2 separate regions of the Homo sapiens genome follow, and region 2 is linked to region 1. Evidence: promoter capture Hi-C in human tissues and cell types (Jung and others, 2019). All regions are on one chromosome and are shown on one strand. The core of a region is centred on a gene start or on the middle of the fragment in contact, and the rest is flanking DNA. Distances in the headings are between cores, read along the strand shown.

What was found. Contacts are between HindIII fragments. The study calls those that stand out against the background at their distance.
Region 2: a fragment that was not itself captured here is called in contact with the fragment with the promoter of HYPK in region 1 in 1 of the 25 tissues and cell types used here (lymphoblastoid cells).

What each region holds. Positions count from the first base shown.
Region 1 is chr15:43,799,349-43,805,017 of GRCh38, forward strand. HYPK (huntingtin interacting protein K) reads left to right here and starts at 1,251. Exons shown (of 4, transcript NM_016400.4): 1 at 1,251-1,436; 2 at 1,784-1,839; 3 at 2,170-2,221; 4 at 2,363-5,079. The coding sequence starts at 1,275. The coding sequence ends at 2,458. SERINC4 (serine incorporator 4) reads right to left here and starts at 872. Exons shown (of 12, transcript NM_001258031.2): 1 at 537-872; 2 at 1-138. The coding sequence starts at 638. SERF2-C15ORF63 (SERF2-C15orf63 readthrough) reads left to right here. Exons shown (of 6, transcript NR_037673.1): 3 at 1,147-1,436; 4 at 1,784-1,839; 5 at 2,170-2,221; 6 at 2,363-3,241. It overlaps MFAP1 (microfibril associated protein 1), which reads right to left. Exons shown (of 9, transcript NM_005926.3): 9 at 5,144-5,669. RefSeq lists enhancers at 1-669, 670-1,370, 1,278-1,527. The HindIII fragment of the contact is 6,811 bases long and covers 1-4,815 here.
Region 2 is chr15:43,844,892-43,849,873 of GRCh38, forward strand. All of the region lies in intron 8 of WDR76 (WD repeat domain 76), which reads left to right. Among named protein-coding and RNA genes, the nearest start is that of WDR76, 20 kb to the left of the region's middle. The HindIII fragment of the contact is 4,377 bases long and covers 1-3,668 here.

The DNA of each region.
Region 1 (5,669 bases), core at 1-2,500:
TGACAGCAGGAGGCAGCAGATTGCTGAGGCCCCCACATGGAGGAGGATGTAGAACAGGCGGCTGCAAGTGGATGCGGTGAGAGAGGGCCACCTAGAGTGGCAGCAGCTGGCACAAGGAGCAGGCCCACAGCAGCACACCTGGGAGTAGAGCAGATGCAAGGCAGCGAGGTGGAGACTTGCTGAGGAAAGGCATACGTTAATGTATGTGTGAGGTTAACCCAGGAGGTTGAATTCCAAAATTTCCCCTTCCCCTTTCTTCCTTTTACTCAGGTTCTGTTTCAAGCTGATTCCAGCCATTTGGGATTGCCGCCCACTGACAACTTAGTAGGGCTTTCATTATAAGCAGGCTTGAGATATCTGACCTTTCTCTCGACCTAAACACCTGGGGCTGGAAACATGGCGGGAGAGATTTACAGATTATACCTGGGGCAACGAACCAGAACGACATTAGAGGAGAAAAGAGGCCTGTCGTTTTTATTGGCTTCTGCACGTCTTCCTCCCCAGCTTCGGCCACTCTCCCCTTCGCACCCTCTCACCTGACAGAAGGGACTTTTCACTAGGACACTGCTGCCTCCGCTGTGCTGCTGTGCCAGGCCCAGGGAGGTGCCGGGGCTGGGGCCGGCCTTGGCACCCACCATCCTTGTCCCAGGGATTAGGCTTAGGTCCACCAGATGGAAGGCAGATGAGAGCAGCAGTTGCTTCTGTCCTCAGCCCATTGGACTGCCACTGTGTTGGGGCTGAGCACCCGGTCCCGGGCAGAATGGAGACGTCCGGAAGAGAACACTGACCTCCAGGTTGCGGTAAATGCAAATGCCCTGTGAAGGAGCTTTGTCCTTAGGGCCTCAACACTGCGGCCACTCAGGCTGTTCTCTCCAGATTAGGGGGCAGTTTGTCTATCTGGCCCCCTGTGGATTAGCATTCTTTATTGGTTTAGGATTAGACGTCATTCAGGTTGAACGGAGTTCCCTGAGGTGGGTGGGTGCGTGTTTATGTGTTGAGGGGACTATTCCTAGTTTATGAGGTGGTTAAGGATATCGGTGGGGTGGGCTGGAGCGGTGTCGGGTTAGGTCTGAGAGAAGGCCTCGCACAAAACACTGTACAAACCCGAAAGGAAGTCTGAGAGACGAACCGCCTTCCTCCCTGAAGCTTCTAGAACTGGAGCAGAAAGAAGGTGTGGCCCAGGGCCAGCCCCGCCTCCTCCCCGGGCGGAAGCTGTGTCAGTTGCCGGAAGTCGGCGTGAGGTGGGGCTTATGCGGCGGCGTGGTGAAATAGATATGGCGACCGAGGGGGATGTGGAGCTGGAGTTGGAGACTGAGACCAGTGGACCAGAGCGGCCTCCGGAGAAGCCACGGAAACATGACAGCGGTGCGGCGGACTTGGAGCGGGTCACCGACTATGCAGAGGAGAAGGAGATCCAGAGTTCCAATCTGGAGACGGTAAGGTTGGCCAAGAGCATGTCGGGGCGGGCTGAGAGCAGAGGGGGGCTCTGAGGCTGTAGCTGGAAGCCAGCGCTCCAAGACGGGGTTCTGATCCCGTTGGCAGGAGGAGGCAATAGGGTAGAGCCGAGGGAAACAGCGGTCACCGGAGCGCGCCGCTTGCCTAAAGGAGCTTGATAGTGGGCTTAAGGGGACCTCAGGTGCATAGAATGGAATTAAACATAGTCCTTGCTACCTGGTAACACTTGTCATCGTGAATCCATGCATGAACCGCTTGTTTTGTTGGCCTTTTAGATTATTGGGAATTGTGGGTAGCGGTGCAGTAACTAGACCTGCCTTTCCCATAGGCCATGTCTGTGATTGGAGACAGAAGGTCCCGGGAGCAGAAAGCCAAACAGGAGCGGTAAGTCTTCAGGGGCAGCCAACTTTAACAGTTCTTCCCTCCCCGGTCCCCAGACAAAAATAAAAACCATTATTAAGCCTTTATACCGTTCTTCAAATTTATCACCAATTCCTGCAGATCTAGGCGCCACAACTTTACTCTTGTTAGCAGAAGGCCTCCTGGCAACACCTGCTGCCAAGACTCCAGGGGAAAGGAGTATTAGTGGGAGTTTTTATTTTCAATCAAGGGTTTATCAAGATTTATTTACAGGGCACTTCTGGGAATGACCCTTCCTGGGAGTTTATGGTGTTGGTTGAGAATGAGGACTAATATATTTAAATATTTTTGCAGGGAGAAAGAACTGGCAAAAGTCACTATCAAGAAGGAAGATCTGGAGCTAATAGTGAGTGGTAGTGCCTAACTAGTGTATGCGGAGGGGAGGCTATTCTGCTTAATTTGGGTTGTTTCCTGAAACAAGCGGAGTCAGTATATTTGGTGGCACATTAATGCCTGGGAACCTATGTAACATGATTTTTTTCTGCAGATGACTGAGATGGAGATATCTCGAGCAGCAGCAGAACGCAGTTTGCGGGAACACATGGGCAACGTGGTAGAGGCGCTTATTGCCCTAACCAACTGATGCGTGCTTTCTCAAATATACCTACTGGATTAATTTATGGCAATAAAATTTTTTTTTGTCTTTTTCAGTTTTATCATCTTGGGTCAAGTAGAGTGTATACTATATCCTATGTTGTGGAGAATTTATATGTTGGAGACTAACTGAATTTAAGTGACCCATTAAAATCTAGCACACCTGTATGAAAAATCAGTGTAGAAGAATACCTCATGTGCAGATGCTAGGTGGCAGGCCAGTCTCATTCATCTGACTAGCTCTCAACAGTATTCAAGGTACATCTGGAGTCTCAGCAGAGTTACTGTACTCAAATGGCATGTGTCTCCAAGACAGCTTATGAATATCTAAAAGGCCAGCTACCTGCCTAGGAGCCACTATATATATAGATAGATGTAGGTTATGAACCCAGTTCATAGGCCACCTTGAGTTAGAATTTTGGTACCTACAACATGCTTGATTTTGAGTGATTAAAAAAAAATAATTTGGCTGGGTGCTGTGGCTCACACCTCTAATCCCAGCACTTTGGGAGGTCGAGGCAGGTAGATCACGAGGTCAGGAATTCAAGACCAGCCTGGCCAACATGTGAAACCCCGTCTCCACTGAAAATAGAAAAATTAGCTGGGCATGGTGGTGGGCGCCTATAATCCCAGCTATTCTGGAGGCTGAGGCAGGAATCGCTTGAAATTGGAAAGCAGAGGTTGCAGTGAGCTGAGATCACACTACTGTACTACTGTACTCCAGCCTGGGGGAAAGAGTGAAACTCCATCTCAAAAAAAAAAAAAAAAAAAAAAGCCCGGGCACAGTGGCTCACACCTGTAATCCCAGCACTTTGGGAGGCTGAGGCAGTCGGATCATGAGGTCAGGAGTTGAAGACAAGCCTGGCCAACATGGTGAAACCCTGTCTCTACTAAAAATACAAAAAAAATAAAATTAGCCAGGCGTGGTGGTGCATGCCTGTAGTCCCAGCTACTCAGGAGGCTGAAGCAGAAGAATTGCTTGAACCAGGGAGGCGGAAGTTGCAGTGAGCTGAGATTGTGCCACTGTACTCCAGCCTGGGTGACAGAGCGAGACTGTCTCAAAAACAAAACAACAAAAAAGAATTTAGGGGCCAGGCATGGTGGCTCATGCCTGTAATCCCAACACCTTGGGAAGCTGAGGCAAGACGATCACTTGAGCCCAGCAGTTTGAGACCAGCTTGGGCAACACAGTGAGATTTCGTCTCTACCGCGCTCCCCCCACCACCAAAAAAAGAATTTAGGTACCTGAGGGTTAGAACATGGTAAGACTAGAAGATATCAAAGGTTGGGCCAGGTGTGGTGACTCATGCCTGTAACCCCAGCACTTTGGGGAGGCTGGGCTGGGAGGACTGTGTCAGGTCAGGATTTCCAGACCAGCCTGGGCAACATAGCATGACCTTGTCTCTACTAAAATTAAAAAAAAAAAAAGCCAGGCATGGTGGCATGTGCCTGTCTGTGGTCCCAGATACTCTGGAGGCTGAGATGGATTTGCTTGAGCCTGGGAGGTTGAGGCTGCAGTGAGCTGAGATTGTGCTACTGCACTCCAGCCTGGGCGACAGAGCAAGACTGTCTCAAAACGAAAAAAACCTATGAAAGGTTTTGATTGGTATTCAAATTCTAAGCCATAATACATTCTACATGCCATTTCCTATCCTAGAGAGAAGGTAATTTTACTTTAAAGGTTAATCAGGGCCGGGCGTGGTGGCGCATGCCTATAATCCCAGCACTCTGGGAGGCCGAGGCAGGTGGATCACCTGGGATCAGGAGTTTGAGACGAGCCTGGCCAAAATGGTGAAACCCCATCTCTACTAAAAGTACAAAAAAAAATTAGCTGGGTGTGGTGGTGGACGCCTGTAATTCCAGCTACTAGGGAGGCTGAGGCAGGAGAATCTCTTGAACCCAGGAGGTTGCAGTGAGCAGAGATCGCGCCACTGCACTCCAGACTGGGCAACAAGAGTGAAACTCCATCTCAAAAAAAAAAAAAAAAAAAATCAGCTTGGACCAACTCACACATGTTGAACTAGTTTCCTCAACTATAAAACTGTGACGGCCCCAGCTAGGCACAGTGGCTCAACGCCTGTAATCTCAGCACTTTGGGAGGCTGAGGCGGGCGGATCGCGAAGTGAAGATCAAGACCATCCTGGCTAACATGGTGAAACCCCGTCTCTACTAAAAATACAAAAATTAGCCAGGCATGGTGGCAGGCGCCTGTAGTCCCAGCTACTCGGGAGGCTGAGGCACTCTAGCCTGGGCAACAGAGCCGTCTCTTTAAAACAAACAAACAAACAAAAAAAAAACCCTGCAACGGCCCCTGAGTCTGCTGTAAGGACACTCAAATGGCAATTACAGACATTTCTCCAAGAGTTTCAAGGCCTTACCCTCATTCTGACTCTAGGATAATTCTTAGATTGTATCCCACACAACAGTGACTTGTACCTGTGTTCATCTTTATGTATTTACCACCTCATAGTAATTATTTGCATTCATTTTTATCGTACGACACTAAACTATTTGATTCTTCCAGTGGGACATTTAAAGGATGTGAGAAGACCTTGGTCTTCTCAAAAACATCTGTATTTGGTCATGGAATAAATCCAGATGCTACCTAAAGCCAAGCTAGTACCTGAGCTTGTTTCTGAGATCAAAGGGAATTATCAAAATGTGAAACACCTTCTGCCTGACAATTGTTATCTTTTACTTTAATAGGCAATTAATACTTGTCAGCTTGGACATTTTATTTCCAGTATCATGCTAAAAATCTCCTTGTTGTGTGATTCTTTTATTTCTTGACATGCACACATATATGGATCAAAAAGTATGTACAACTAGAAAAACGGACTCCAAGCAAAAATGGAAAACATGTTTCCATGAGCTTAGATTTCCGGGTATATTACTCCTAAACCTAAGGTAGAAGTAATGCATTGTTCACTTACATGTCCACTTTTCTAACCCAAGCTAAGGGCTGGAAAAAGAAAGTCAGAACAGTCCCAAGTAAATATGGGAAACCATAGCAGTGATAAAACCTAAGATTTCTCAGAAATAGTTTTAAGTGGGAAGCCTCTAATCCTACCTGGACAGTGCTTTCCTGTGGGTTTCTCAGCATGAGTCCAAACCTCACAAAGCACCTTCAAAGTCTGGGCTACCCAGTATCACAAGTATAGCAGTAAGTCCAATATCTGGATACAGGGGCCAAGGAAACA
Region 2 (4,982 bases), core at 230-2,729, 46 kb after region 1:
CACTCCAGCCTGGGCGACAGAGCGAGACTCTGTGTAAAAAAAAAAAAAAAAAAAAAAAAAAAGATCAAAGTTTAGTTTTCTTTTTTTGGAGAGGGAGTCTTGCTCTGTCGCCCAGGCTGGAGTGCAGTGGTGTGATCTCGGCTCACTGCAAGCTCCGCCTCTCAGGTTCACGCCATTCTCTTGCCTCAACCTCCCGAGTAGCTGGGACTACAGGCGCCTGCCACCATGCCTGGCTAATTTTTTCTATTTTTAGTAGAGGTGGGGTTTCCCCATGGTCTTGATCTCCTGACCTCGTGATCTGCCTGCCTTGGCCTCCCAAAGTGCTGGGATTACAGGCATGAGCCACGGCGCCCAGCCCGAAGTTTAGTTTTCTAGTTGTGTTTAAAATATGGTCTGCTATGGTCTGAATGTTTTTGTCTTCCCCAAAATTCATATGTTGAAATACTAATCCCTATGGTATTAGGAGGTAGGACCTTTGGGAGGTGATTAGGTCATGAATAAGATTAGTGCCCTTATAAAAGAAACCCAGGAGAGACCACTGTCCCTTCTACCATATGAGGACACAGCTAGAAGGCACCAACTATGAACCAGAAAGTAGGCCCTTACCAGACACTGAATGAACTGGAAGCTTGATCTTGGTCTTCCTAGTCACCAGGACTGTGAGAAATAAAATGCTGCTGTTGATAAGCCACTCAGTTTATGGTATGTTGTTTTAGCATCCCAAATGGACTAAGAAACAGTTTCTAAGCTGTATCAAAATATCTTCCCAGGGACCTGCTTTGGAATGATTTTAGTTATCTTTGATGAGTCAGAAATAGATACTGAATTCCATTCATTGTGCATATAATTCTGCATGAAATACTGTCTGTTATTACAAAATTGAGAAAAGTCAAGTTAATGTTCTCTGAATTTATTTTCTTATTGGGGAAGAAGACCAAAGACATGAAAAATGCCATAAGGACAATTAATGAAGGTGAAGAAATAGTGGTGACTTGAAGTTGGTTGGGGTTTATAAACAAAATTTGCAAGTTTGAAGACAGAAACCAAGTTCTTATTTTGGGATCATAGATTCTCCCTTATTTTGATAAGATGTGAGTGGGGATAGGAGGTGATAGGATTTAGCAAAGAAAACTGAAGCAAAAAAGTGGGAAGAAGATCAGAATAGTATGTTTTGGAAGCCAAGAGATGAGTTTCAAGGATGGGAGGTTGACAGAGCCTTTTGCAGAGAAGTTAAAAGAATGGAGAAAAGGCCATTGATTTTGAAAATAGGGTACCATGTAGTGAGTTGAGAGAATAGCTTTGACAATGAGGTAAGTAAGGAACAAAGGCTTTAGGAGATTAAGGAAGTATGGGGGTAATGAAAGAACTGGAGAAGCATTGGATAGAGACTTTTTTTTTTTTTTCCCGCCCCTGAGATACGGTCCCACTCTGTTGCCCAGGCTGGAGTGCAGTGGCATGATCATAGCTCACTGCAGCCTCAACTTCCCACGGTCAAGCAATTCTCCACCTCAGCTTCCTGCGTAGCTGGGACTACGGTCATGTGCCACCACACCTGGCTAATTTTTTAACTTTTTGTAGAGATGGGTCTCACTATGTTGCCTAGGCTCATCTCAAACTCCTGAGCTCAAGCACTCCACCTGCTTCAGCCTCCCAAAGTGCTGGGATTACAGGTGTGAGCCACCACACCCATCTGAGACTACTTTTTGAAGAATTTTGCAAAGGAAAAATTGAAAATTAGCATGATTAAATGAAGGTTTTTTTTTGGATGAGTTGATCTGTATAGATTTAAGACATACATAAAAATCCTTTTTTCATATCTTTCATGATGACTCCAAAAATCTGTATTACAGCCGGACGCGGTGGCTCACACCTGTGATCCCAGCACTTTGGGATGCCAAGGTTTGGCGGATCACCTGAGGTCTGGAGTTCAAGACCAGCCTGAACAACATGATGAAATCCCATCTCTACTAAAGATACAAAATTAGCCGGGCATGGTGGCACATGCCTGTAATCCCAGCTACTTGGGAGGCTGAGGCAGGAGATTTGCTTGAACACAGGAGACGGAGGTTGCAGTGAGCCGAGATGGCGCCATTGCACTCCAGCCTGGGAAACAAGAGCAAAACACCACCTCAAAAAAAAAAAAAAAAAAAAAAAATCTGTATTACTAGGTCTCTGTAGTCCAGTATCTCCATCAACCTAATTTTCCAGGACATTTGGCAATCTCATTAACAGATTTAACAAGTCTAAAAGCAATATTACCTTGTCTATCCTGTGCTCACAATTTCCCCAGTTTTTTTAAAAAATGGCTTCATTGAGGTAATAATTTACCTATCATAAAATCCTATTTAAAAAATGTAAAATTCAATGCTTTTTTTTCTTTTTTTTTGAGATGGGAATCTTGCTCTGTCACCCAGGCTGGAGTGCTGTGGTGTGATCCTGGCTCACTGCAATCTCTGCCTCCTGGGTTCAGGTGATTCTCGTGCCTCAGCCTCCTGAGTAGCTGGGATTATAGGCGCTCGCTGCCACACCTGGCTAATTTTTTTTTTTTTGAGACGAGTCTTGCTCTGTTGCCCAGGCTGGCATGCAGTGGCGTGATCTCTGCTCACTGCAGCCTCCGCCTCCTGGGTTCAAGCAGTTCTCTGCCTCAGCCTCCCAAGTGGCTGGGATTACAGGCGTCCGCTACCACACCTGGCTAATTTTTTTGTTTTTTTAGTAGAGATGGGGTTTCACCATCTTGGCCAGGCTGGTCTTGAACTCCTGACCTTGTAATCCACCCGCCTCGGCCTCCCAAAGTGCTGGGTTTACACGAATGAGTCACCGTGCCCAGCCTAATTTTTGTATTTTTTGTAGAGATGAGGCTTCTCCATGTTGGCCAGGCTGATCTGGAACTCCTGACCTCAAGTGATTTTCACCTGCTTCGGCCTCCCAGAGCTGCGATTACAGGCGTGAGCCACTGCACCTGGCCTCAGTGGTTTTTAATAAGTTTACTTAGTTGTTTAATTATCATAGTCTGGTTTTAGAACATTTTCATCATCCCTATAAGATCCCTCATGCTGGCTGGGTGCAGTGGCTCATGCTTGTAATTCCAGGGCTTTGGGAAGTCAAGGCAGGAGGATGGCTTAAGCCCACTAATTTGAGACCTGCCTAGGTGACATAGTGAGATGCCTGTCTCTTAAAAAAAACAAACAAACAAAAAAAAAACTGGATGTAGTGGTGTGTGCCATTAGTCCCAGCTACTCAGGAAGTTGAGCTGGGAATATCACCTGAGCTCAAGGCGGTTGAGGCTGCAGTGAGCCATGATTGTGTCACTGTACTCCAGGCTGGATTGACAGAGTGAGACCCTATCTCAAAAAAAGAAAAAAAATTCACTTACTGCAATAAGAAAGAAGCAGAACCTAATGTAGTATACTTCAAAAACTAGCTACCAAGGAGAGAAACAAATCTGTAGCAGAGCTAGGAGACAGCATAATTTAGCTTCTGCCCTGCCCCGTGTGCAGAATCTATACTGGTAAATTGACCAAATCCTGAGAATTTTCTATATTATCAAAAGTAGAGAGAAGCACATTGGGTATTCCGATTTTTCCTCTTTTCAATGAGGAATGGGGAAATAGTTGCTGGGGTGAAATCAGGAAAAATAGAAGAAGTAGGGACAGTGAGTAGTAGAACTGATTGTCTTCAAAGGAAGTTTTCTTGGCCCACGGGAGTGGTAACACCCTCCACCGCCATACAAGTAGGTGGTATGAATCCTGGTATAAAATAATGAACAAGGCCGGGCGCAGTGGCTCATGCCTGTAATCCCAACACTTTGGGAGGCTGAGGCAGGTGAATCACCTGAGGTCGAGTTCAAGATCAGCCTGACTAACATGGTGAAACCCTGTCTCTACTAAAAATACAAAATTAGCTGGGTATGGTGATGTGCACCTGTAATCCCAGCCACTTGGGAAACTAAGGCAGGAGAATTGCTTGAACCCGGGAGGCAGAGGTTGCAGTGAGCCGGCATTGCACCACTGCACTCCAGCCTGGGCGACAGAGTTGAGACTTTTTTTTTTTTTTTTTTGAGGCCAAAAAAACTGCATTTCAGATTACCTGCTGTCTCAACATGGTGAAACCCCGTCTCCACTAAAAATACAAAAATTAGCCAAGCATGGTGGTGGGTGCCTGTAATCCCAGCGACTCAGGAGGCTGAGACAGGAGAATCGCTTGAACCTGGGAGGTGGAGGTTGCAGTGAGCTGAGATCGTGCCACTGCACTCAAGCCTGGGTGACAGAGTGAGACTTCATCTCAAAAAAAAAAAAAAAAAGACTGTTGGAGGAAGGGTGAGAATAATATTCTCAAATCAATATAAATTATCTAAAATTAACAGTTTAAAAAATAAAAAGCATAATGACTACAATTGCTTTTTGTTTTATACTTTTGCCATTGTAGAAGATAATGTCTCTGTAAATACTTGAAATTCAAAAATTCCTTTAGCTTCATTTTCTTATATTATTTTGACAGATTTATGTGTACCTATACAGATAGAATGATAGCGAAGAAATTTTAAAAAAGGACCATGCTGTATATGCCGTTTTAAATCACATTAAATTTAACTATAAAGATGTCTATAATCTCAGTGTTTCAATGATAATTTTGGTTAATTTTAGATTTGGAATGATTTTTTTTTTTGAGACGGAGTCTCGCTTTGTCGCCCAGGCTGGAGTTCAGTGGTGCAATCTTGGCTCACTGCAACCTCTGCCTCCCCGGTTCAAGCAATTCTCTGCCTCAGCCTCCTGAGTAGCTGGAATTACAGGTGTCTGCCACCACGCCCGGCTAATTTTTGTATTTTTAGTAGAGACGGGGTTTCACCATCTTGGCCAGGCTGGTCTTGAATTCCTGACCTCGTGATCCACCCACCTCAGCCTCCCAAAGTGCTGGGATTACAGGTGAGCCACCGCGCCTGGCCTGGAGTGATTTTTTTAAAACTTCCATCTTTGTACATTTCT